7 separate regions of the Homo sapiens genome follow, and all the other regions are linked to region 6. Evidence: promoter capture Hi-C in human tissues and cell types (Jung and others, 2019). All regions are on one chromosome and are shown on one strand. The core of a region is centred on a gene start or on the middle of the fragment in contact, and the rest is flanking DNA. Distances in the headings are between cores, read along the strand shown.

Evidence for each region. Contacts are between HindIII fragments. The study calls those that stand out against the background at their distance.
Region 1: a contact is called between a fragment that was not itself captured here and the fragment with the promoter of SLC19A1 in region 6, in 4 of the 25 tissues and cell types used here (IMR-90 fibroblasts, dorsolateral prefrontal cortex, lymphoblastoid cells and 1 more).
Region 2: a fragment that was not itself captured here is called in contact with the fragment with the promoter of SLC19A1 in region 6 in 1 of the 25 tissues and cell types used here (H1 embryonic stem cells).
Region 3: a contact is called between a fragment that was not itself captured here and the fragment with the promoter of SLC19A1 in region 6, in 1 of the 25 tissues and cell types used here (aorta).
Region 4: a contact is called between the fragment with the promoter of COL18A1 here and the fragment with the promoter of SLC19A1 in region 6, in 2 of the 25 tissues and cell types used here (adrenal gland and thymus).
Region 5: a fragment that was not itself captured here is called in contact with the fragment with the promoter of SLC19A1 in region 6 in 2 of the 25 tissues and cell types used here (lymphoblastoid cells and mesendoderm cells).
Region 7: a contact is called between a fragment that was not itself captured here and the fragment with the promoter of SLC19A1 in region 6, in 4 of the 25 tissues and cell types used here (H1 embryonic stem cells, dorsolateral prefrontal cortex, mesendoderm cells and 1 more).

Annotation. Positions count from the first base shown.
Region 1 is chr21:45,772,547-45,775,246 of GRCh38, forward strand. All of the region lies in intron 4 of PCBP3 (poly(rC) binding protein 3), which reads left to right. Among named protein-coding and RNA genes, the nearest start is that of PCBP3-AS1, 63 kb to the right of the region's middle. The HindIII fragment of the contact is 3,374 bases long and covers 1-2,700 here.
Region 2 is chr21:45,695,870-45,698,678 of GRCh38, forward strand. All of the region lies in intron 2 of PCBP3 (poly(rC) binding protein 3), which reads left to right. Among named protein-coding and RNA genes, the nearest start is that of PCBP3, 54 kb to the left of the region's middle. The HindIII fragment of the contact is 5,398 bases long and covers 1-2,809 here.
Region 3 is chr21:45,741,568-45,744,305 of GRCh38, forward strand. The region is part of intron 3 of PCBP3 (poly(rC) binding protein 3); the gene reads left to right. Among named protein-coding and RNA genes, the nearest start is that of PCBP3-AS1, 93 kb to the right of the region's middle. The HindIII fragment of the contact is 8,727 bases long and covers 1-2,738 here.
Region 4 is chr21:45,403,850-45,406,663 of GRCh38, forward strand. COL18A1 (collagen type XVIII alpha 1 chain) reads left to right here and starts at 1,316. Exons shown (of 42, transcript NM_001379500.1): 1 at 1,316-1,392; 2 at 1,530-1,624. The coding sequence starts at 1,382. It overlaps BNAT1 (breast cancer associated ESR1 regulating natural antisense transcript 1), which reads right to left and starts at 2,513. Exons shown (of 2, transcript NR_183526.1): 1 at 2,318-2,513; 2 at 1-647. RefSeq lists an enhancer at 471-1,171. The HindIII fragment of the contact is 38,297 bases long and covers 1-2,814 here.
Region 5 is chr21:45,716,772-45,719,604 of GRCh38, forward strand. The region is part of intron 2 of PCBP3 (poly(rC) binding protein 3); the gene reads left to right. Among named protein-coding and RNA genes, the nearest start is that of PCBP3, 74 kb to the left of the region's middle. The HindIII fragment of the contact is 3,124 bases long and covers 1-2,833 here.
Region 6 is chr21:45,541,083-45,543,836 of GRCh38, forward strand. SLC19A1 (solute carrier family 19 member 1) reads right to left here and starts at 1,358. Exons shown (of 6, transcript NM_194255.4): 1 at 1,286-1,358. RefSeq lists silencers at 792-851, 1,202-1,511, 1,552-1,631 and an enhancer at 1,486-1,998. The HindIII fragment of the contact is 13,138 bases long and covers 1-2,754 here.
Region 7 is chr21:45,315,960-45,318,915 of GRCh38, forward strand. No RefSeq gene overlaps it. Among named protein-coding and RNA genes, the nearest start is that of LINC00316, 25 kb to the right of the region's middle. RefSeq lists an enhancer at 2,565-2,956. The HindIII fragment of the contact is 7,844 bases long and covers 1-2,956 here.

The DNA.
Region 1 (2,700 bases), core at 144-2,643, 230 kb after region 6:
TATACTGATTTTATTTCCTTTGGGTAGATACCCAGTAGTGGGATTGCTTGATTTAATGGTAATTTTATTTTTAGTTTTTTTGAAAAATCTCTGTACTGTTTTCCATAGTGGCTGTACTCGTTTACATTCCCACCAATGATATATAAGTATTTTCTTTTTCCTGCATCCTCACCAACACCTGTTATTTTTTTATTATGGCCATTCTATTTTTAATAACAGCCATTCTGAATGGTTCAAGATGACATCTCATTGTGGTTTTGATTTGCGTTTCTCTGGTGATTAATTATGTTGAACATTTTTTTCACATACTTCTTGGCTGTTTGTGTGTCTTCTTTTAAGAAATGTCTATTAAGGTCCTTTGTTCACTTTTTAGTGGGACTATTTGTTTTTTTCCCTTTTGATTGAGTTCCCTTTATATTCTGGATGTTAGTCCTCTGTCAGAAGAATAATTTGCAAATATTTTCTCCCTATTCAACAGGTTGTCTTTTCACTCTGCTGATTGTTTTCTTTGCTGTGCAGAAGCTTTTTAATTTAATATAGTTCCATTTGTCTATTTTTGTTTTTGTTGCCTATGCTTTTGCGGTCTTAGTCATAAATTCTTTGCCTAGACCAATGTCCGGGAGAGTTTTCCCTAGGTTTTCTTCTAGTATTTTTATAGTTCCATGTCTTACATTTAAGTATTTTTATAGTTTCAGGTCTTACAGTTAAGTATTTTTATAGTTTCAGGTCTTACATTTTAAGTATTTAATCCATTTTGAATTGATTTTTGTGTATGGTGAGAGATAAGGTCGAATTTTATTCTTCTGCATGTGGCTATCCAATTTTTTCCACCACCGTTTATTGAAGAGGGTGTCCTTTTCCCCCAGTGTAAGTTCTTGTCAGCTTTGTTGAAGATTATGTTGAACATTTTTTCACATACTTCTTGGCTGTTTGTGTGTCTTCTTTTAAGAAATGTCTATTCATGTCCTTTGTTCACTTTTTAATGGGACTATTAAACCAGAAGCTTTGTGGTTTTATTTCTGGGTTCTCTATTCTGCTCCAGTGACCTCTGTGTCTATTTTTATATAAGTGCCATACTGTTCTGGTTACTGTACCCTTGTTATATATTTTGAAGTCAGATAATGTAATGCCTCCAGCTTTGTTCTTTTTGCTCAGGATTGCTTTAGCTATTTGTGCCCTTTTTTGGTTCCATATGGATTTTAGAATTTTTTTTTCTAATTCTGTGAATGAGGTTGGTATTTTGATAGGGCTTGCATTGAATCTGTAGATTGCTTTGGGCAATATGGTCATTTTAATGATATTAATTCTTCGTATCCACGAACATGGGATGCTTTTCCATTTGTGTCATCTTCAATTTCTTTCATCAGCACTTTGTAGTTTTCCTTATAGAAATCTTTCCTTTCCTTGGTTAAATTTATTCCTAGGTATTTTGTGTAGCTGTTGTAAATGTGATTGTCTTCTTGATTTCTTTCTTGACTAGATCACTATTGGTGTGTGGAAATGCTGCTGATTTTGTATGTTGATTTTGTATCCTGCAACTTACTGAATTCATTTATCGCATCTAAAAGTTTTATGGGGCCGGGCGTGGTGGCTCACACCTGTAATCCTAGCACTTTGGGAAGCTGAAGTGGGCAGATCACAAGGTCAAGAGATTGAGATCATCCTGGCCAACATGGTGAAACTCCATATCTACTAAAAAAAAATGCAAAAATTAGCTGGGCGTGGTGGTGCGTGCCTGTAATCCCAGCTACTCGGGAGGCTGAGGCAGGAGAGTCCCTTGAACCTGTGAACCGAGATTGCGCCACTGCACTCCAGCCTGGCGACAGAGCAAGACTCCATCTCAAAAAAAAAAAAAAGAAAAAAAAGTCTTTTTGGTGGAGACTTTAGTTTTTTCTGGATAAAATTATATCATCAGCAAAGAAGGACAATTTGACTTCCTCTTTTTCAACTTGGTTTCCTTTTATTTATTTCTCTTTCCTGGCTGCTCTGGCTAGGACTTCCAGTATTATGTTGAATAGGAGTGGTGAAAGTACGTATCTTTATCTTCTTCTAATTCTTAGAGAGAACACTCTTAGCTTTTCTCTAGTATTATGTTGGTTGTGGCTTTGTCATATATGGCTTCATTATTTTGAGGTATGTTACCACTATGCTTAGTTTGTTGAGAGTTTTTATCATGAGGAGATGTTGAATTTTATCAAATGCATTTTTGCATTTATTGAGATGGCCATATGGTTTTTATCACTCACTCTGTTATGTGATATATCATGTTTATTGATTTCTGTATGTTAAACCATACTTGTATTCCTGGTATAAATCTCACTTGATTATGGTGTATTATTTTTCTGATGTGCTGTTGGATTTGGTTTGCTAACATTTTGTTGAGCATTATTGTGTCTGTGTTCATCAGGGATATTGGCCTGTAGTTTTATTTTGTTGTATTCTTGTCTGGTTTTGGTGTCAGGGTAATGCTGCCCTTGTAGAATGAATTAGGAAGATTTCCCTTCTCTTTGATATTTTGGAGTAGTTTCTGGAGGATTAGTATTAGTTTTTCTTTGTACTTTTGGTAGAATTCTGCTGTGAATTCACCTGGACCTGGACTTTTCTGTATTGGGAGGCTTTTACTACTGATTCAGTCTCACTATTCCTTATTAGTCTGTTCAGGATTTTTATTTCCTCCTGACTCAGTCTTGGCAGGTTGTA
Region 2 (2,809 bases), core at 231-2,730, 150 kb after region 6:
GGAGTTCGAGACCAGCCTGGCCAACATGGTGAAATCCCGTCTCTACTAAAAATACAAAAATTAGCCTGACGTGGTGGCACACACCTGTAATTCCAGCCACTCAGGAGGCTGAGGCAGGAGAATCACTTGAACCCAGGAGGCGGAGGTTGCAGTGAGCCGAGATCGCGCCACTGCACTCCAGCCTGGGTAACTAGAGCAAGACTCTGTCTCAAAAAAAAAAAAAAAAAAAAAAAAAAAGGTCTTTTCAATAAATGGAAGTAGAGTAACTGGACATACATACGGAAAACATGAACTTGGACTCCGTCTCACACCAGCCACACTTGGATTGGACCTAAGTGTTAAAGGAATATAGTAACGCTGCTAGAGGAAAATATGGAAGAATATTTTCTTCATGGCTTCAGGGTAAACAAATTTTTCTTAAACCAGACTCAATAAGCCCTACCTATAAAAGAAACAGTTGAGAAGTTGGACTTTATTAAAAATAAGAACTTTTGTTTATCAGAAGACCATTAAGTGAGAGAAATGTGAAAAACGGCATGCACCAAGAAAAGATGTTTGCAATACATATATTAACCAAAAGATTTGTCTCCAGAATGTATGAAAACGACTGCAAGTTAATTTTTTAAAAAAGGCAATCAACAGGCTGGGTGCGGTGGTTCATGCCTGTAATCCCAGCACTTTGGGAGGCAGAGGTGGGTGGATCATGAGGTCAAGAGATCGAGACCATCCTGGCCAACATCGTGGAACCCCATCTCTACTGAAAATACAAAAATTAGCTGGGCATGGTGGCGCACGCCTGTAGTCCCAGCTGCTTGGGAGGCTGAGGCAGGAGAATTGCTTGAACCCGGGAGGCAGAGGTTGCAGTGAGCCGAGATTGCGCCATTGCATTCCAGCCTGGCCACAGAGCAAGACTCTGTCTCAAGAAAAAAAAAAAAGGCAACCAACAAAAAATGGGCAAGAGCCTTGAGCAGACACTTCACAAAAGGGGACATTGAAATGTCCAGTAACTTATAAAGAAGTACTCAGTGCTGTCAGTGATCCAGAAAGTACAGATTAAAACCACAGTGAGGTACCACAATAGCCTTTAGAAAGGCAGGTGTGAAAAAGACAGAAAATGGCAAGTGCTGGTGAGGATGTGGAACAACTGAATTCTTATATGCTGCTGGTTGATTGTGACCTGCTTTGACCACTTTGAAAATATGTCTGGCAAGTATCTACTTAAAATAAACCTACACCAACCATATGACACACTAGTCTTCCTTCTGGATATATGTGCAAGAGAAATATGCACATATGTTGGCCAAATGATATCTATAAGAAATTTCCTAGAAGCTTTATGCCTAATAGTGAAACACTGGAAACATCCCGAATGCCTGTCAGCAGTTCAACTGTTTTAGTTAAACAAACAAGCAAATTATGGAACATATGTACATTGGAATACCACATGGCATAAAAAATTACTCTAAATACTCTAAATATCTTTCTAAATTTATGCTCCAGCACAAACTTGTGGAGAATACACTCACTAATAATTTAATTTTTAAAAACTTTTCCATCTTAATCATACAAACCACTTAAAAAATATCACAAAGTTGCCAGATGCTATGGCTCATACCTGCAGTTCCAGCACTTTGGGAGGCTGAGGCAGGAGGATTGCTTGAGTCTGGGAGTTTGAGACCAGCCTAGACAACATAGTGAGATATCACCTCTACAAAAAATTTAAGAATTAGCCGGGTGTAGGTGTGCACACCTGTGGTCCAAGCTACTCGGAAGGCTGAGATGGGAGGATTGCTCGAGCCTGGCCGGTGAAGGCTGCAGTGAGCCATGATCATGACACTGCACTCCACTGCACTCCAGCCTGGGCAACAGAGGGAGACCCTGTCTCAAAAAAAAAAAAAAAAATTACAAAGGAATTATTCTCCTACTTATCTTATTAATAAGACAGAGACAGAACATGTAGCCATGGCTCATTTTTGAATCAGCTGTGTCCTACTAGTTTCCAGAAAGTCCAGAAGACTTCTCCTCTGTTGTGTGAGCCTCATAAGTGGCCAGGGGTAGATATCACACAGGCTGAAACATCTCAGTCATCAGACACCAGATGCTGAGTCCCCATCTGGCCCATCCACCTTCCCTACACACTACTTCCCATGCACCTTATCCTGTTGTCTCACCTGGGCTTCACAATTTAGTCCCTGGGAGATGTGAAAAACAACTTTTTTCTATTTTACAAGTTAGAAAACAGGAGTCTAGGGAATAAAATAATAATAACTCTCCCTTACTGCAACATCCCTATGTGCCAGGCCTGTTCCACAGACTCTCCAAGATTAGGCTGAGGTACCATCCTCTTGGGGCTCCTTCCCCTTCTCCAAAGTGCCCACCTCTCTGACACTCCACATTGTTTGTGGAGTGTGTGCTCTTCTCTGATTATGCATACCTGACACTGTATGGCATTGAAGACATTTGTGTTCATGCATTAGCCTCCCATTATGGGGGACACATGCTTCTTGAGGATGGGGGCTGTCGCCCACCAAGCAGCTACCAGGACAGGGCTTTTCAATAAATAATTTGTTGGGCTGAATTTCTAGCATCACGTCTCAGAGCCTCAGCCTAGCAGGGCTCTCTTGGGGAGAAGGGATCTGGGGATCATCTGATGAAAGCAAGGACCAGCATGTGACATAGAGGAAAAGAAAGAGCAGTCTACGTGAGGTCTCTGGTCTGGTGCAGTGACAGCACTCATTCCAGAAGAGCTCTTGGCCAGGAATGTGGGAGCCAAAAGGCTGATTAGCTCATTGCTGCACTGCTGGCAAAC
Region 3 (2,738 bases), core at 37-2,536, 200 kb after region 6:
ATTGTGATGTAGGGGGCAAGGGAGGGGTAGGGCCACTGCTTTTCATAAGCTTTATCGAATTATTTGCTTTTAAAAACTGTGTATATTTATAGTTTTATTAAAAATAAAAAATTTTAAAGGTTATATGGCAAATATTATTTTATAAAAAATTGATGAACCTCAGGCCCTGAGCTCCCTTGCTTGCCCTGCTCCTGCCAGGGCAGACTTCCACTGCCCTTGCCCTCTGGTCCTCTCCACTTCAGAGGCCCGGCCTCTGGCTTGGTGAATCTGAGGCAGATCTTTCTCCTCAGGTTGCTTGAGCTCTGCAGCGTTAGGCCTGGTGAGCGCCTCTTGCCCAGTGCCCTGGGGGCGGTGGGGAAATTCCAGTCCAGACTGTCTGCCTCAGGCATTCAGTACACACTTTCGTGCCCTGCTTTTTAACTGAATAGTATTCTGCAAAGTGTTCGACCTTACCTAGTTTGAGAACATTATTTTTAGAAGGTTGCATGGTTTCCCATGTTGTGGATCTAGGTATCATTTATTGGATTATTCCCTTTTTGTTTATTTTTTCTGATTTTCCACTAATATCCATAATACGAGGTAAACACCCTTGTGCATAAATCCACAGCAGCTTCCTCTCTTTTGTAGGCAGTGTTCACACCTACAGAATTCCTGGGTCAGAGGACATGGACATTTAAAAGAGGCATAATGTGTAATTGCCAGGTTGATCTCAAAAGTGCAAGTTTGTACTTGAACAAGGCTGTACCAGAGTGCCTGTGCTGTTGTATCCTGACACACCAGGTACTGCATACGTCTCCATCTCGAAATGCAGAAGCACACTGAACACACATGGCTTAGCTCTTTAACAATAATGTCGTTTTCCCCCATGCTCATAAGCATTCTTGCATTATTGAAGATACTCTGCTTTTATGTCTGTGGGAGGAATTTTCCCCAGTTGAGTCGTGCACTTTTTCATCTGATCTGTAGCATTTTGGGTAGCTCGCTCAGTATTTTCCGTTGTGATGTCGTCTCTTATTGTGTTTACATTTAGAAAATCCTTTTCTTGGGATTTAATTAGGTGTATGTTCTTAGGTGAAGATCTAAGTTATTTTTTCTTATATTAGAAACACCATTTATTCAAAATACTTCATTTTTCTAATGATTCATGCTGCAACTTTTTATGTATGTGTACCACATATGAAAATATTGTGTATTTTAGTGTCTGTTTCTGAATTCTCTAATTGACCTCTTTGTTCTAGTGCTGGTACACTGTTTTAATTATTTTAGTTTCACGATATATTTCCATATCTGATAAAGGTAACCAATATTTCAAAAAATATTTTGGTTATTCTTGGCTACCTACTTTCTAAATGAACTTTAGAATGATTTTCAAGTTTAAAAAGTTAATCATATTGAGGTTTCTTTTCAAATGGATCAGATCTATAATTTAAATTATAAACAGCTGACATTTTAACAATATTTAAATAGTTTCCTATATAGAAAGGGAATCTGTCTTTCCATTTATTCTGTTATTAGCCTTCAGTTACATTTCATAGCTTTCTTGCTGTAGGTTTTATCTTTCAAATTTTTTTCCAACTAATTTGTGTTATTTGGTTATTGTAATTGGGATTTTTCCCATTGCATTTATCAAATATTTAACATTATATAGGAAAACTATCAGTTTTTATATATTTGAATGTGGTCACATGTTAAAATGGTTTTATTTGCAAAAGGGTTTTCAGGTGAAATTTGACTTATTTTTACCTTGACCCAACATTCACCATGAAGTATGCTCCCTGTAGCTCTCTGGTATATATTCTTCATTAAGCTACAGAAGTTTTCTTTTATTGCTATTTATTAAGTTACGTGTTTTTTAAAATCAAAAAAGTTGCATTTCACTAAATGTGTTCATTGCTACTATTTAGGTGGTTGTATGATTCCTGCTTTTGTCTCTCAATGGAGTGAATTCTGTTCCTGACATTCCAAGTGTTGATTCTTGGAATAAACCCCGTTAGGCCATAGCTCTTCCAATTATAATATGCTCCCAGTATCTTATTGGGACTAGAATAAGGGTTAATAATAGGGTTAGGGCTAGAGTTAAGGCTAGCATAAGGGTTGGAGTTACCGTTAGTGTTCGAGTTATTGTAAAGGTTAGGATTAGGGTTACTGTTAGGGTTATCGTGAGGGTTATGGCTAGGGTGATAGTGCTCTATAAGGTTCTTTTTTTTCTAATTTTTATATGATTTTGGCAATAAATGATAGCTTGCTTTCATAACATGATTTGAGAATTGTCCCATGTTTTTCTATCCTTTAAATAACAAATTTTTCTGTCTTCTGTTTAGAAATGCAAATGTTATCAGCCTTCGATAGAATTCTACCTTTAATAGAATTCGTCTATCAAAGCTGCTAAGCCTGGAGCCTATTTTGGAGACTGATTTTTTAGTGTCTATATAATTTCTACCATGGTTATTGATTTTATACACATTTTCTTATACACCAATGGTTTTTTGCTTAGGAAACAGTCAGTTTTAAGCAAGTTTTTAGGTATATAGGTAAAAATGTGTATATGTTTTATATATATATATACATATGTATGTATATAACATATATATGTTGTGCTCGTCATTTTTCAGTCTTTAAAAATTTTTAACTTAATTTAATTTTTCTTTTTATTATTTTTTTAGAGACAGAGCCACACTCTGTTGGATGTTGATCCCAGCTCACCGCAGCCTTGAACTCCTGGGCTCAAGCGATCCTTC
Region 4 (2,814 bases), core at 66-2,565, 140 kb before region 6:
AATCCTTTACATTGATTTCCTTCCTCACAGTGCACCGCAAGCACTCAGGGAAGGACTCCAGGTTTGAAGGCAGATGCTGGTCGGGACCCGACCAGGTGGCTGGGCGGGAAGAGGTGAGATCGGGCAGGATTGGGCCTGGGAAGGCTGAGGCAGGCAGGGATGATGCCAGCAGAGGAGAATCCCAAGCAGGCCCCGCGGCTGCGGCTGGAGAGCTCCAGGGGCGGAGAGGAGGTGGGAGGCAGCAGTCAGGTTGGGAGGACCCTGGCAAGCAAGCCCAGAGAGGAGGGCCGGGAGGGCCGGGCACTAGAAGTGTGAAGTCACTGCTGCCTCCTGGGGCTGCTTCAGAGGATGGGTGGGGCCACGTGTGGGGAGATCAGGGAGACTGGAGACTACGCTGTTTGGTCCAGGCATAGGAGATGAGCCCTGGCCGGGAAGGGACAGTGTGGATGGGCCAGGCGGAATCAGAGGGTTTCAGAGAAAGCCGTCAAGCCAGTGCCATGAGTTTCGCGCACACGAGGAGGGAGCAGGCTGGGGGGTGTTGCTGGTGTGAGGGCTCTCTGGTTGCAGGGAGCGGTCCGGTCGGGTGGGGGCACAGCTGCCAGGAGGAAAGCGCCCAGGGCCTGCAGGTGGGGCTCAGGATGCTGGCCCTGAAGAAATAGAAACAGGGTTTTCACCTGGGAGGGAGGAGGAGCCTGGGAACTGGGGAGGAAGAGGCTCTGCTGGGCCGCGCCCTGGGAACAGGGGGACCTGGGGACAGATCTGGCCCTCGCACGCCCCTCCTGTCTCGCGTCCGTCCCTCCGTGCAGCCGGGGCAGGACCCTGCAGGGGCCTTGCGGGCCGGAGGTGCCGGCTTCCTCCTCCGTCCCGTCCCCCCCGCGGTGACTCTATTCAAATCTCCCCCCTTCCCGCTGCCCCACCGGACTCAGGGGCTGGGGTCGTAGCCCGGCGGGCAGCGGTGTTCACCTTCCGCATAAACCTGGGCTTCCTCGCGGGGCAGCCCCCGGGCCCTGTGCTGGGTCGCAGCCTCGGGCGGTTCCCTCGGGGCGGGACGTGTCCCCGTCCGTCCTCGCCCGTCCCCGCCGCCCCCGGGTCCCGGCCCGCCCCGTCCTCGCAGCCGCAGGTCCGCTGCGGCGCCCGCCCCCCTCTCCCCTCCCCGGGCCTTGCCCTGCTCGTCGCTCCGCCCCCTGCCCGGCCCCTGCCCGGCCCCGCCCCGCGCCCGCCCCCTGCCCGCGCCCGCCCCGCCCCCTGCCCGGCCCCTGCCCGGCCCCTGCCCGCCCCCTGCCCGGCCTCCCAGCGGCGGCGGCTGCAGCGCGGCGGTCCGAGCGGGTGCACCGCGGCGGAGGAGGCAGCATCCCGCGGCGCTGACGGTCCTGGGGAGAGCATGGCGCCGAGGTGAGGCCGGGGCTGCGGGCAGGGGTTGGGGGACGCCAAGATGCGGCTGCGGGGGTCGCGGGGGTCGCGGGGCTCGGCCGGGTCCTGCGGGGGTCGCGGGGGTCCTGCGGGGTCTGACCCGTGCCTGTCCCGCGCAGGTGCCCCTGGCCATGGCCGCGGCGGCGGCGCCTCCTGGACGTGCTCGCGCCCCTGGTCCTGCTGCTCGGGGTCCGCGCGGCCTCCGCGGAGCCAGGTAAGACCCGGGCGGGACGGGAAGGTTCGCGCCGGTGCCCGCCGGCCTCGCCGCCCTGGCTGGGGTCCCCGCCCGGCTCCCTCACCCCCGCCCCGGCCGCTCTGGGTTCAGCCCCGGCCCTGCCCACGCGCGCAGGAGGCGCCGGAGCCGGACGGAGCGGGGCGGGGTGGCCGGAGTCCCGCCCATTCATTCTCCCCGCGGGGTCCGGGCCGGGAGGGGTGCGCGGTGCGAGCGGCCGGAGTCCCCGCGCGGGGACCGAACCTCCGCGGCCGGCGGGGTCGTCGGTGCCGGGAGGGCTCGGGGCGGGGCCGCGGGGTCTCGGGAGACGCGGCCTCTGTCGCCGTCACGGCCTCGTCCCCGCAGCGCCGGGTCCCGGGACTGACCGCGGGCGGAAGGCGGCGGAGCGCGGGGCGTCGTCTCCGCGTTTCCAACCTGTTGAGGCTCCTCGCCGCGGGCCGGGCCTTGTGCGCCTCTGTCCCCGCCGCCCTCAGGCCTCTGTCCCCGCGCCCGCCGTGGTGTCGGGTTGCGCGGTCCCCTTTGATGCCAACCGAGCGCCGCGCGGTCCGAGAACAATGCCCAGAAGCCGCTGCCCCGCCGGCCTCGCCGCTTCCCGTGCGCGGCAAACGGTGCGCGGGGCCCGTGGGGACCTTCCTGCCTCCAACCCCGGGACCCAGTTCCCCACCACCTGCTAACCGGGGCCTCCTGCCTCCAGCCAGCCCAGCAGAGGCCCGGGGGAGGCGGCGGGGACGCGGACCCCAGGGGAGCCCCGCCCAAAGGGCCTGGGTGCCTTGTCGCGGGTGGAATCCCACCCGGGGGTCCACGCAGCCAGCGCCTGCCTCCGACTCGACTCCACACCTGCTTGCTACAGCGGGTGAGGAAGCAGGAAAGGGGGAGGGAGGGATGTCGTCTGGATTCCTGTAATAATTTGTTTCATTGTTTCCAATCGACTTAGTCACCAGGTTAAATAGTAGCATAGACCTTTCAAAAAAGTAGCTAGCTTATAAGTAGATGTATTGAAAACACCTGCTTGTTGAGTCGTAGACAATTCCTCATTTACTGTGTGAACTCTAGGGGGTGAAACACGGGCGGAGAGCGGCTGTGAGCTCACGCGGCTCCATCCCCACAGCGGCCCAGGGTCACTCGGGGCCATTAATCAGGCCGCAGAGCTGCCCTCTGAGCCGGGCCGCCAG
Region 5 (2,833 bases), core at 131-2,630, 180 kb after region 6:
GTAAGTTTTCAAATTGGGAAATGTGAGTCTTCTGACTTTGTTTTTCTTTTTTAAGATTGTTTTGGCTATTCTGAGTCCCTTGAGTTTTCATATGAATTTTAGAATCAGCTTGTCAATTTCTGTCAGAAAGTTGGCTGGGATTTTTATAGAGATTGCATTGAATTTGTAGATTAGTTTAGGACATATTGCCATCTTAATAATATTACATTGAACATAGGATGTTTTTCTATTTATTTAGGTTTTGTTTAATTCCTTTCCCTTTCTTGTAGTTTTTGGTGTATAAGTCTTGCATTTTTAAAAAATTAAATCTATTCCTAAGTTTTTTATTATTTTTGCTGCTATTACGAATGGATTTTTTAAAATTTTATTTTTGGATTGTTCATTGCTAGTGTACAGAAATACAATTACTTTTTGTATATTGATCCCTGCCACCTTGTTGAACTTTATTATACTAGTTTTTTAGTGGATTTCTTAGTATTTTCTATATACAATATCATGTCATCTCCAAATAGAGATATTTGTATTTTTCCTTTTCAGTCTGGATGCCCTGTATTTCTTTTTCTTGCCTAATTGTCCTGGCTAAAACCTCCAATACAGCGTTGATTGTACTGGCAAGGGCAGGCATCCTTGTCCTGTTTCTCATCTTAGGGGAAAAGCTTTCAATCTTTTACTATTGTTCATGATGTTAGCTGCGAGTTTTTCATAGATATCCATTATTAAGTTAATAAAGCTTCCTTTTATTCCTAGTTTTTTTGAGTGTTTTTATCATTAGATATATTGAAATTTGTCAAATGCTTTTTCTGTGTCTACTGAGATGATCATGTGGTTTTTGTCCTTTATTCCATTAATATGATGTATTGCATTGATCGATTTTTGGATATTAAGCCAACTTTGCATTTTGGGGATAAACCCCACTTGATTATAGTGTGTAATCTTTTTTATATATTGTTAGATTTGGTTTGCTAATATTTTTGTTGTGATGTTTTACATGTGTATTCATAAGAGACATTGGTCTTTGGTTTTCTCTTGATGTCTTTGTTTGGGTTTGGTATTGGGCTAATACTGGCCTCATAAAATGAGTTGGGAAGTATCCTTTTCTTGTCTGTAATTTTGAAAGAGTTTGTGAGGGGTTGTTGTTAATTCTTACTTAAATGTTTGGCAGAATACGGTAGTAATGCCATCTGATCCTGGACTTTTCCTTGTGGAAAGTTTTTTGGTTACTAAACCTCTTCACTTGTTTTAGGTTTGTTCAGATTTCTCTTTTATCTAGAGTCAGTTTCTGTAGTTTCTGTGTGTTTCTAGGAATTTGTTCATCTAGGCTTTTTGTTGATATAAAATTGTTTATAGTATTTTCTTATAATCCTTTTTATTTCTGCAAGGTTGGTTGTGATGTCTCCTCTTTCATTCCTAATTTTAATAATTTGAGTCTTCTCTCCTTTTTTTTTTTTGCTAGTCTAGGTGAAGATTTGTCAATTTTTTGATCTTTTCAAGAAACTAACTTTTGGTTTTGTTTTCTATTCTGTTTAATTTCTATTTAATTTCTATTTCTATTTAGTTTCTTGTTGCCATAGTATTTGTTGTTTCCTTCCTTCTGCTTGCTTTGGGTTTAGTTTTCTCTTGTTTTACTAATTTCTTAAGATGGAAGTTTAGGTTATCGAATTGAGATCTTGCCTCTTTTTTAAAGGTAGGTGTTTACAGCTTCGAAAGACTCCTGTCCTGTTCTGCCGCTTCCATGCCAGCCAGGCTGCTGGTTCTCATTGATTGCTGGGCTCTTGGTTTTCAAGGCTTGGATGCAGCTCGGGGGAAGGGGATGGAAGTAGGGTAAGTTAAAATGCCACAATGCTCACTGTTCTTACCAAGGTCCAGTTGTTTTTCTTGAATCAGTGATCCTTGGATTGCTGCAAGCCTTTGATGAATTTCCAGAGCTCTTAAAAAGTTAATTGTGACAATTTTGCCAGGGTTCTCATTGCTTTTATGGAGAGGTAAGCTGTTAGTGGTTATTACTCTGCCATTCTCACAGATGCCATCTGCGTCCTATGTTTTATAATGAACACTTTTCAAAAAATGAATGTGATTGCCACAGGATATTTTATGAAAATTGATGAATGGCTTCTAAATGTCACAAGGGGATAAAAGCATAAGACTGGCCAACAGTTTGGAAAAGAACAGCAGTGGAGAGCTGCCTATTCATCTGATATCAAGATGCTCTGTAAAATAAAGGAGTGGAAACAGTGTGGGACTTGTGCTAAGCAGGGCCAAGCAGCAAATCTAGAGCCCAGCTAATGGGACGGGAGGTCAGTGTGTGAGAAATTTCCGTCTTGGGTTAACCCTGGCCTGGCTGAATTCGGGGAACAAGCCATGTTGTGTGATTAGCTCAGCTGTATCTGGCTGACCGTTCGTAATCCTCACCCTGCAATAAGGTTGGCTTTACCTCAGAATTAGAGCTGAGGCAGTTTGGGAAGGGGCTTCTCAGTGGATGCGAGTGACTTGGGGCCGCTCTTGGGGATGAAGGACAGAACAGCAAGTGTTCTCAGGGAGGCTAGAGGGGCCATCACTGAGAGAGTTAAAAGAAGACAACTGAGGAACTGAGAAGTGAGAACAAGCCATACCCGGTGGCAGGAAATGTGTGCAGAGGGTTTTTAGTGTGTCTTCTCCAAGACATACTGATATGGTTAGGCTTTGTGTCCTCACTCAGATCTCATCTTGAATTGTAATCTCCATTACCCAAAATCCACACATGTCAAGGGCAGGACCAGGTGGAGGTAACTGGATCATGGGGGTGATTTTCCCCATGCTGTTCTCGTGATAGTGAGTGAGTCTCACGAGATCTGAT
Region 6 (2,754 bases), core at 108-2,607:
GGTTCCTAACAGCATAATTAGACCCTCCGGCTATCACTGCTGCAGGCCCAAACACCCGAGAAGCACTCTTTCTCATCTGTGTCCAGCAGAGATAACTGTACTATCTGGAATTATAAAAATCCACCAAAGCCCCTTCGGAAAGAAAGCAATTAGCAATTGCAACAAGCAGTGCACAGGTGGCACCCAGGCAAAGGCGGCCAGTGAGATGCAGCCTGGCTCCCAGGCCTGGACAGGGCAGGCAGGTGCACTGGGCCAGAGGCACCTCGGCTCTGCTGATTGAATCTGGGCTGTGCGGGGATCCTCGGGTCTCCGTAGGGGGAGGCCACCTCTTTACAGGGCGGCCAACAGGCGCCTCCAAGGACTTTATCCCACCTTCCCTCTGGATGCATTCTGGATTTCGGGGCCAGCTTAGTTGGCCTGTGTCCTGAGGCCAGGCAGGCCAGACTCCCCAGGACAGGAGTTTCCGATGGACAGGACCCTAGGGGGATGGCTTTCCTGCTGTAGCGGTGTTGGAAGGACCCACTCGGGAAAGGCTCCAGCGGCTGTCCAGGCTCTCTCTGAGACGCCTCGGGATTGCTCCGCTGGATCCGCACCCACAGCTGCTCCAAGGGGAAGTTGCACCTACAAAGCTTCTGGCACAGGAGACAATGGTCTGGAGATGTGCCAGGGGCCCGCCCCACGCGTGGCTGGCAGGGTTCACCCACCGGCTGGCCCGTCCCGAAGCAACACGTGCCTGGGCGCGAACGCCGGATCCACGCTTTCCTCCAGACCCGGGGGTGGGACTTGGCGCCCCAGGATGACGCGGAGGGCAGGCTGGGGGCCGGGACTCCCCACCCCATTCGCAGGCTGCGGCGGAAAGCGAGCGGCGGGAAACCCGCTGCACAGCAACGGTTCTGCCAGGCGCCCGGGCCACCGCGACCCCCGCGGAGACCCCGGCCCACGCCCCGCACCCTCCCCAGGGCCCCCCAGACCCCAGGCTGCAGACCGCAGACCCCGGCCACGCCCCGCACCCTCCCCAGGGCCCCCCAGACCCCAGGCTGCAGACCGCAGACCCCGGCCCACGCCCCGCACCCTCCCCAGGGCCCCGCGGACCCCAGGCTGCAGACCGCAGACCCCGGCCCACGCCCCGCACCCTCCCCAGGGCCCCGCGGACCCCAGCGCCAGCCCCCACACTCACCTCACAGGGCCCTGCAAACCTCGGCCCGCGCCCCGCACTCACCCCAGGGCCCCGAGACACCCCGCAGCCCCCGACACGCGGCCCCGTGGCCCCGTTCCCCACCGGTACCTGCGACTCGGCGGGGCGGCTGCCCTGGGGCTCCCGGACCCGGCCCCGCGCACGCGGACTCCGGGACTACAGCGCCCACAAGGCGGCGCGGCGGGCGCGCGGCTGCGGGGTGGGCGGGTCCGTCCCGCCGAACGCGTCCTGAGGGCGGGGCCTCGCGCGTGGCCGGGCGCTGCGGCAGGAGCGTCCCCACGGGGCACCCTCCCACCCACGGCCGTCTCCCAGCCCCGGCGCCGGCCTCTCCCCACCCGGTCACCGCCGGGGTCACGCGGCCCCTCGTGCTGCGGCCCTACCCCTGGGGCCGCCCCCTGACCCCGACCGCCCCTCGGGCCCCCACCCCCGCCGGCGTCAGCATCCTGGGGTGCCACTCGCGGAGGTGTCGGTCCCTCGGGCGGGCACCCTGCCATCCCTCTCCCCCGCGTTCTTCCCACCCCCGGTCCCCTCCTGACCCCCCCTCCTCGACGAGGCCTTGTGCGTTTTCCTTTTGGCACCCTGGAACACCTGCATTCCTGGCCGCAAGCTGGATCCGGGACGCGGGTCGGGCCCACGCGCCCTCAGGGGTGGCCCTGGGCCGCCTTCGTGGGGCTCCAACAGGGACACGCACAGCCTGCTCTTGGGGACCGCACGGCCCCGAACTCGGCGCCCCCGGGACCCCGCCGCCCGCCCTCCTGCCTGACCGTGACCCGTACGGGCTTGTACCAAGGAGCAAGCCGGATCCAGGACGTGGCCCGGGGCCACCAGTCCCCATCCCAGCAGGGACAGCCCGGGGGAGACCCGCGCAGGCCTCGCAGACGGCAGCGCAGTCACACTCAGGAAGGGGGGCCTGGGCCACTCTCCCAGGAAGGCGTGGGGCTGCGGCAGACAGCACCGCCGAAAGCCCAAGGCCTGTGCAGGACACGGGGAGAAGTGGGGGGCCTCAGGGTCACTTTCCCCTGGAGTTACCCAGGGCCTGGCTATGGGGAGGGAAGCCAAGCCGAGGGCTGTGGGGGCCCCAAGGCTAAGGAGGAGCCAGGAAGTCCACTGCACAGAACAGAAGGGGACGGCCACCGTGGTACCCACAGCTCAAGAGTGCGGGTCCCAGGCGAGGGGTGAGTCTGGGGCAGCAGCCCCTGGAATGTACCCCTTCCGGAGTGTAGACAGCACAATCCGCGACCTGCCTCCTGGTGTTGCGGGGGTGCTCTTGGTCTCCCGCCCACCAGCAGGGCAACCCCACCAGGAAGCCAACACAGGGCCCTTGCCCTAAATGGCCGCCTGCCCAAAGCTCTGGCCTGGGCCTTCTTTCCAGAGTCCTGAGTGTAGCAAGCCACACGAACAAATCTCAAAGGAACTTAAAAAGGATTTGTTGGCTGGAAATGGGGGATCTGGGGTAGCTTGCAGAATTTAAGGGAACACTACAGGATGGAGCGCCTCACCTGGAGGGACCCCCTGCTTTGTGGGAGCCCTGGCTCTCTCCCCTGTACTGGCCTTCTCCA
Region 7 (2,956 bases), core at 96-2,595, 230 kb before region 6:
TGCCGGTGGGAATGTAAATTAGTTCAACCATTGTGGAAGACAGTGTGGTGATTCCTCCAAGATTGAGAACCAGAAATACCATTTGAGAAGCTATCCCATAACTGGGTATATACCCAAAGGAATATAAATTATTATAAAGATACATGCACACGTATGTTCACTGCAGCACTATTCACAATAGCAAAGACATGGAATCAACCCAAATGCCCATCAGTGATAGACTGGATAAAGAAAATGTGGTACATATAGACCATGGAATACTATGCAGCTATAAAAAGGAACGAGATCACGTCCTTTGCAGGGACATGGATGAAGCTGAAAGCCATTATCCTCTGCAAACTAACAAAGGAACAGAAAACCAAACACCGCATGTTCACTTATAAGTGGGAGCTGAACAATGAAAACATACGGACACAGGGTGGAGAACAACACACACCAGGTCCTGTTGGGGGAGGGTGGGGGTGGAGAGCATTAGGGAAAAGAGCTAATGTGTGCTGGGCTTCATACCTAGGTGATGGGTTGATAGGTGCGGCAAACCACCATGGGACATGTTTACCCATGTAACACACCTGCACATATACACCGGAACTTAAAAAGATATTAGAGGAGAACACGGACCTTAGAATAGCAACTCTCCCAAACAAAGACGCAGCCCCACGTGGAGCAGAGGAGGAGAAGATAAAGTGGACTGCAGCAGAAGCTAACACAACTTTATCACCAAAGACCCCAGAAACCAAGTCAGAAGGCCAGTGGTGGACATGGGAATGATAGATGCTAAAGAATGCTCAGCTTATAGTAGCCAGAGAAAATCCTGGCAAAGGTGGAAAGTGTGAAGGCACCAGGCATCAGTGGCACGCGAGTGTGATCTCCGGAGGCGGGGGAGGTGGGGGAGGCCGGGGCGTGAGGGGCTGTGGTTATCAAAGGGAACCGGCTCTCTTAGGGGGGCTCTTTTACTTTCTCTGTTACTCAGAGCAGGGACCAGCCAGCTCTGTCGAGGCCTGGAAAGTAATGGATTTAAGCTTTGCGGCCACATGGTCCGTGCACCCACTCTGCTCTGTCCATGTTTTTCTTTGTATTTTTCTCCAAGCATTTAAACACGTGCAAACCATCCTTAGCCCAAATGCAGCCAAAAGCTCCTGTGGGTGGAGTTTACTGTCTTACGCCCGGGAGCGGCTCAAAGTGTGCCCCAACCAGCAGCCTGGGCACCCTTGGTGCTGTAGGAATGCAGGTGCCCTGGCCCACCCGGACCCTGGTGTGGGGGGGGGGCCCACCCAGGCCTCTAAGAAGCCGTCTAAGGGTGCCGCCCAGGTCTTTGAGAAGGGCAGCCTTGGCCAAATGGTCATACCTGTACACGGGCCGGGCCGCACGACTTCTTTAGAGCTGGGGCCAATGGAAGCCCCCTGAGTGCTCCTCAACAGGGGCCTGGAACCCCGGCTCTTGTTAAAATGCAGATTCTGACTCAGCAGGTCTGGGCTGGAGCCTGGGACTCTGCATTTCTACCCAGCGCCCAGGGGTGCCCAGGCTGCTTCTGGGACCTCACTTCCTGGCCGTGGTACCTTCACAGCACCAGCCACTAGCGTGGAACTTGCACTGCAGCTTCCGACAGCTGCAGAAATGGGCATGTAGGTGGGGTGGGGGCTGGGACCTGAGCTTGTTGTCTGTCCCTCCCTTTCTCACTGGGGCATTGAGGACACACATGAAAGAGGCGAGGGGGCGAGAAACAATGCTGGCATCTCCATCCTGGGAAGAGGCTGGGAAGAGTGACTCAGTCACAAAAAATAAACAACACCAGCTTTTGTCTTAGAAATTCACCCTGTTTGACTTCATGGATTCCCATCGGTCTGCAAGGACCCGGGTTAGCCTGGGATCCTCTTCTGTGGCTTTGGTGAGCAGATCCCCACTCCGCCTCCTCTTAGGACGCCTAGTCCTGCCGTGATTGGCCTTGGGGGCCCGGGGGTGACCTCAAGTGTCCCCAGCCAGGCCGCCCACCCCAATCTCAAGAAGAAACAGGGTGGGAGGAAGCAGGGCAATCTCAGCACCCATGGCAGAGGAGGCCACGGTGGAGGAGGCCACGCCTGGCTCAGCCTGGAGTTGGGGACGTGAGGAGGGGCTGAGACGGTCACCCCAAGACCCCCACTTCAGGCCAGCTCAGAGGGTCCAGGGTGGGGGTACTTGGGAGAAGGCTTGTGAGGGGGTCCCTGTGGCCTTCAGGGAATCCCACCCCATTTGGATGTTACCTCCAGGCTGGTCCTAGGGGCTGGGCACCCACAGGCCAGAGGCCAAGGAACCAGGAAGTGCCCCCCGACATGCGCTTGGGGAGCCCCAAGCTCCTCCACTCATGAAAAATCGAACCCCCCCACCACCTCCAGGTCAGTCACCGTCTCCAGGACGTGGGTGGCTGCCCCCACTCCTCTGGCCCCCACTTCTCTGGCTGAGAAACTCCACGTGCACCACCCCAGGGGCTTCAGGCTCCTCCAGAGGGGCTCCATTCCCCTTCCTGCCCCGTCCCCTGATGTTCCTTCCCCACCAAGCCCTGGGCCATCTTCCCACAGCCTGGGACTAGCCTTCTGGTCACCTGCAGTGGCTGCCAGGTGGGCTGGGGTGGGGGCTGTCCCTGGGTGCCCAGGCCTCTCGGGGACCCCTGCATGCACTGGGCATGACATGGAGGGTGCCTTTCCCCACCCAGGGCCCAATGAACCTGGAGGTCACAGCCCCGACCCCGGCCCAGCTCCAGGGTGAGGCCGGGCCCCTCTGGAGCCCCACTCTGGCCTCCTCTCCTGCCCCCACCCCCATCCTGCCCCTTCCTGCCCTGGCCCTGTGTCTATCTGCTCTGCAGGCCGTGCTCTGGGAGCCTTGAGGCCCTGCGTCCACCCCCTGGCAGTTCTTCTAGGCTGGGCTCCAGGATTGGGGCCTGTTACCTGGAGGTGGACTGGCCTCCCTGCTGTCAGGCAGGGCC